Linked DNA regions of Homo sapiens: region 2 is linked to region 1. The links are contacts of gene promoters, found by promoter capture Hi-C in human tissues and cell types (Jung and others, 2019). All regions are on one chromosome and are shown on one strand. Each heading gives the region's core, a stretch centred on a gene start or on the middle of the fragment in contact. The rest is flanking DNA. Distances are from core to core; before and after follow the strand shown. Region 1 holds the start of EEF1A2 (eukaryotic translation elongation factor 1 alpha 2). Region 2 holds the start of MIR1914 (microRNA 1914).

Region 1 (2,719 bases), core at 203-2,702:
TCCCTGCCTCCTCTCCTGCCTGTGGCCCAGGAGCCCAAGTCCCTGGACTCCTATGGGGCAGACGCAGCCACAGACCAGGGTCCTCCTGAGAGGCCCTCTCCACAGGCTGGGGAGAACTGTTTGGCCCCGACCCTGGGCCCCCACCTTTCCTTCCTCCTCACACCTGCCAGCAGGCCAGGTAGGGGTCCAGTCGCTGGGGATCCCCATGGATTTGCCCAGTCGCAGCTGCTGGGCCCGACCCGGGGCCTCCATGTCAACACCCAGTGGGAACTCAGGGCTGAGAGGACAGGTGCCAGGGCTCTGCCCCCACTCAGCACACACCTCCCGAGACCCCGCTGGCAGGAAGATCCGAGTGCGTGGGGGTGGGGGGGCAGCGTGGGAGGGAAGACCTGAATACCTGGGTGAGACGACAGGATCTTGGGGTCTGGAGAAAGCCCCTAACCTTGGTCTTCACACAACACATGGCTGCCACATCCCCTTCCTCACAACCCACGTTGGTCATTACCCGCGTGTGCCAGGACCTCAGGGACTCCCCACTTCCTACAGAGCGTGGCCCGGTCTTTGGCTTGGCATCCTGACCCCATATGAGCATCAGCTACAAGGCGCTGAGGTGCAGCGGGGTGGGGCGCTGGGCGGGGGGGCCTGGGTCTGTCTGGATCTGACTCGCCCTTGGCTGGCGCTGTTTCCCAGCAGCAGCCGGAGGTCGGCGCACCCGGAGGGGAGGGTCCCTGGAAGATGTCAGTGGGTCTGGGAGCGGGCTTCCGGCGTTCCCTGCACCGTGGGAGACCAGCCTCTCAGGGGGAGGGTGGTTCTGCGCTGGATCCTCGGGGCCTGTCATGGTGCGCCCAGGAGGGCAGGCACGTGAGGACAGGGACTGGAAACCAGCAGATTTCCACCCTGAGGCCTGCACCCCCGGGCCTCATTAGGGAGAGCCCCTCAGAGCCGGGCTTCGTTGGTTCTGGGGCGTCCCCCATGAGCAGGGCCGGGGAGGGGCCGGTAGACCCAGGCTCGTCTCCCAGGCTGCAGCCCACCTGCTCCCCTCCCCCGCCTGCCGGCTCCGGTCCTCGGCGTCTGCCCTGTCCCCGGGGACCGCTTTTCGCGGCTCAAGCGTGTTCCTGCCCTGAGCCGGCTCTCGCCCCGTCTCCCGGGCCCGCCGCGCTCTCCCCGCGCCGTCTCCGTCCCGGTCCCTCCCTCCCGCCGCCTCCCTGCCCTGCCCCCCGCCCCGCCCCCGCCCGCGGCGCGTTTCTCCCCCGCCTCCCGCGTCCGTCTTTGCAGCCCGCGCCTCCCGCATCGCCTCGCGTCCCCGTGGCGCCCGCCCGCGCGCGTCCGCGCCCCGCCCCCTCCCGCGCGGTTCCGCATTGGCGTGCTGCAGGGCGCGGTGCACTGCGCCGCCACCGTCAATAGGTGGACCCCCTCCCGGAGATAAAACCGCCGGCGCCGGCGCCGCCAGTCCCTCTGGCTGAGACCTCGGCTCCGGGTAAGGACGCTCGGCCCCCGGGCCTCCGCCCCCGCCCCCGTCTTCCGAAGAGGGACCCCCGGGGCCGGTCCTGGGGGGCAGAGGGTGGCCGGGCCCCGCACCCGCCCCCGCGCGCGCCCGGAGTCCGGCTTCCGGGGGTCCCCGCGTCGGCCGGGCTGGGCCCGGGGTGGGGGGCGGCGCGGGGCGGCGGGGCCGGGTCCTGGGCGGCGATCGCCCCGTAGCCGTGACCTTGGGGCCGCGGGGACCCTGCGGGCCGGGGGCTGATGGGGGTCGGGCTTCGGGGCGCTGGGCCAGAGGACGCTGAGGGAGGTGGTGAGATCTGGGGGCCCTGGCCTCCCCACCCCCACCCGTGTTCCCACCCCAGGGTGGCTTCTGTCCTCTTTCCCTCCCCCAGCCACCTGTCCGCGAGGAGCAGCGTGGGTTTCTCCACTGACCTCTGTGATGGGACAGGGCTGTGACCCAGGGTCCTGAGTCACAGGGAGGGGGGGAGGGAGGGTGCCCCCTATACCCCCACGGGGCCGAGGGCATCTCCACCTGGCACTTGCTGGGCTCGGCAGGGCCGGGTCCTCCTTCCTCAGGCTGGAACAGGGACCCCCACCTCCCGGCCGCTGTCTGTCCCTGTGAGAGTCCGGGAGGGGGGTGCCTAGAGCTATTCTGGGTTCCTAATCTGGGCAGCGCATCTCCGTCGGGGCTCTGGCCCAGCCTGCCGGGCAGGGATGAGGGGAAGATGGCGCCGTCCCTGCCTGAGGAGGGGAGTGGGGAGCAGTGGCCATCTCTCCCCGGTGGCAGCGGGTGGGGGTGGGGCGCCGTGTCCCTGGCCCTGCCGCCGGGGAGGGGAGTGCGCGTGCAGGACAGGGCCCTGGAGCGCTGGGCAGGTGACTCATCACCCGGCTCTGCTGGTCACGGACGTACCCAGCCTGGCGCTGCGTGGTCTCTCCAAATGGTGGCTAACCCCTTCCCAAGGAGCAGCCCGCGGGCTCCAACGCCCAGTTATTTACAGCAGATGGGGCTGTTTGGGCTCAAGTGTGGGGTGGGGGCAGTGCACAGCCTCTGCTTGCCCTGGCCAGGCCCAGCTGTGGGTGGGGGCCCTTCCCTCCCCACCAAACATGGGGGCTTGGTTTGTGGGCAGGGATGCCTGTCCAGCCTGTGCCAGGACAGTCTCTGCTGGTGTCTCCCCCTGGGGCTCCCCATCACCGGTCTCCCCACCACCACTGGCCCCACAGAATCACTGCAGCCCCCCTC
Region 2 (2,700 bases), core at 6-2,505, 440 kb before region 1:
AGCCAGGGCGGGGCCTGACCCCACAAAGCTTTAGTTCCCCCGGGGAGAGGCTGGGGACAAGCTACCCATTCTGGGGTATGACACCTATCAGCACGTGTGAGCCCGCCCTGTGCCCGGCCCACTTCTGCTTCCTCTTAGCGCAGGAGGGGTCCCGCACTGGGAGGGGCCCTCACAGCCTACCCCGCTAGCTTTCTGCCTGATGGTGAGCTTGCCCCGTTGTTCGCCGCCATCTTTCGCCTTTGCCTGACAGCTCAGGTAGGGCGACGTCTCCCCCCAGCTCAGCCCCAGGCAGAAGTCAGGCCCGCTCTGCACCTCGTGCTGTGCCTGGCCCGTGTGTTCCCCTCACAGTGACGCACAGCCGTCCTGTGGGGAGGGAGGGCTCTGGGAAAAGACCCCCTTCTTGAGTGTTCCCCATCGGTTTGTCCCCAGGGCTGCGCTGGCCTCGGCACACCAGTGCCACCCGCTGCCCCGGACGCTGAGCGTCCTGAAGAGCACGCCGCAGGTACGGGGCATGCACACCATCATCAGGTGAGGGCCCACCTGGGGACGGGGCGGCCCCGGGCGCGTGCTCCCGCTCAACTGTTGGCCCCACAGGGACAAGGAGACCAGTCGCGACGAGTTCATCTTCTACTCCAAGAGACTGATGCGGCTGCTCATCGAGCACGCGCTCTCCTTCCTGCCCTTTCAGGTTCGTAGCCCGTAGCCCGCGAGGTGGAGGGTGGGTCTTGGAGCCGGTGCGAGCTCCCTGCGCTCACCGGAGTCCTCACCCTGCACCCCACAGGACTGCGTCGTACAGACCCCGCAGGGGCAGGACTATGCGGGCAAGTGCTATGCGGGGAAGCAGGTACCTGCCTGGGCACACCTGGGCGCGGGACAGGCTGCTGGGGCGGGATGTGGGCGCTTAGCCTCCCCTCCCCGCAGATCACCGGTGTGTCCATTCTGCGCGCCGGTGAAACCATGGAGCCCGCGCTGCGCGCTGTGTGCAAAGACGTGCGCATCGGCACCATCCTCATCCAGACCAACCAGCTTACCGGGGAGCCCGAGGTGCCTGGGGGCAGCCGGGGTGATGAGCCCGGGGGTAGGGGGCAGAGGGAGCTCACAGCAAGGGGACGCAGGGAGCCCCACCTGCAGCCTGACCCCTGCTGCCCGCAGCTCCACTACCTGAGGCTGCCCAAGGACATCAGCGATGACCACGTGATCCTCATGGACTGCACCGTGTCCACGGGCGCGGCGGCCATGATGGCAGTGCGCGTGCTCCTGGTGAGTGAGCCCTGGGTAGGCGGGGCAGGTTCAGGCAGAGGTGGGATTTACCTGCCCAATACACTCGGTAGGACCACGACGTGCCTGAGGACAAGATCTTTTTGCTGTCGCTGCTCATGGCAGAGATGGGCGTGCACTCAGTGGCCTATGCATTTCCGCGAGTGAGAATCATCACCACGGCGGTGGACAAGCGGGTCAATGACCTTTTCCGCATCATCCCAGGCATTGGTGAGGCTGCCCGGGCCCTTCAGCCGCACATGAGGGCAGGGTGGGTGGCCCTGGGAGGCCCCACCACACTGGACCCCCCCCCCCCTTTTTCCAGGGAACTTTGGCGACCGCTACTTTGGGACAGACGCGGTCCCCGATGGCAGTGACGAGGAGGAAGTGGCCTACACGGGTTAGCTGCCCAGTGAGCCATCCCGTCCCCACCACCCTCCTCCTGCCTCCTGACCCAGGACTGCTGAATACAAAGATGTTAATTTTTAAAATGTTACTAGTATAATTTATTCTATGCATTTTATAAAATAAATAAAGCTTTAGAAAAATGAAGGTGTGATTGGTTACAGCACAGGAGAGGTGTCCTGGCTGAGGCATGCATTTGTGGAGACTCCCATGGGGAGGGAGGGAGGGAGCTGAGGGCCCTGCCTTCTCCCCTGCAGGACCAAGCATTCCCAGTCTTGCACTTGTGCCAGATGAAGGAAGGGGTAGAACTGGGCCCTGCAGCTCCTAGCTCTGCTAGATGGGGCCCCTAGAACCCATAGCTTGGTGGCCACCTGGCCTGGACCTAGGGAGGGGACAGGGCCCCCTGGTGCTCTGGGTCTCACAAGAGGCAGGCTGTTTTGCCCCCACCCACAAATTTGTACCATCAGGGTCCTCCCCACAGTTGGGGGGGGGGAGGGTCCTTCCCGTCAGGACAAGTCGCTGGAGGCAGCAAAGCCAGGAGGCAGACCAGGGCGGAAGTGGGGGCCTGCGCTTGGAGGCGGGGCCACCCGGGGCCCACGAGCCCGGAGCCACTGCTGCTCAGGGCCCGCCTCGCTCACCCCTCCAGACCTGGAGGCCCACCCGCATCCCGTGCTCTCTGCCGTGCCCACGCCCGCAAGCGTGGGTTCCCTTAGGTCCTGCCCACCCTGCTTTCCGAGCAGGCCCCCCCCGGGCTCCCCGAGAGGAGTCGCCGCCGTGGTTTACTGAGGAAGAGGAGGTGCACGCGCGGCGCCCACACGTCGGGCCCCGGAGAGGCCCAGATAACTGAATCAGCCTCCCGGGGCTCAGCCGTGGAGCTGAGGGCTGATGCTGGGGACTCAGCCGTGGGCCAGGCGCATCTGACACGGGACACGGTCGTCCCCGTCCTCTCAGGCGCCAGTGTCTTTCTGCGTGGAAGTCCACGGCCAAAAGCGTGGCGTCCTCGGAGCCTGGCACCTCGATTATGCCGGATCCCGGATC

The links. The method cuts DNA at HindIII sites, captures the fragments that hold promoters and counts their contacts. A contact is called where the count stands out against the background at its distance.
Region 2: a fragment that was not itself captured here is called in contact with the fragment with the promoter of EEF1A2 in region 1 in 2 of the 25 tissues and cell types used here (aorta and lymphoblastoid cells).

What each region holds. Positions count from the first base shown.
Region 1 is chr20:63,497,816-63,500,534 of GRCh38, reverse strand. EEF1A2 (eukaryotic translation elongation factor 1 alpha 2) reads left to right here and starts at 1,452. Exons shown (of 8, transcript NM_001958.5): 1 at 1,452-1,477; 2 at 2,701-2,719. It overlaps LOC124904955 (a long non-coding RNA gene), which reads right to left and starts at 2,253. Exons shown (of 2, transcript XR_007067719.1): 1 at 1,912-2,253. RefSeq lists enhancers at 818-1,387, 1,648-2,443. The HindIII fragment of the contact is 29,943 bases long and covers 1-2,719 here.
Region 2 is chr20:63,938,938-63,941,637 of GRCh38, reverse strand. It overlaps UCKL1 (uridine-cytidine kinase 1 like 1), which reads left to right. Exons shown (of 15, transcript NM_017859.4): 9 at 430-528; 10 at 595-688; 11 at 782-844; 12 at 922-1,044; 13 at 1,153-1,260; 14 at 1,332-1,488; 15 at 1,583-1,809. The coding sequence ends at 1,662. MIR1914 (microRNA 1914) reads left to right here and starts at 94; the gene lies at 94-173. The HindIII fragment of the contact is 6,155 bases long and covers 1-2,700 here.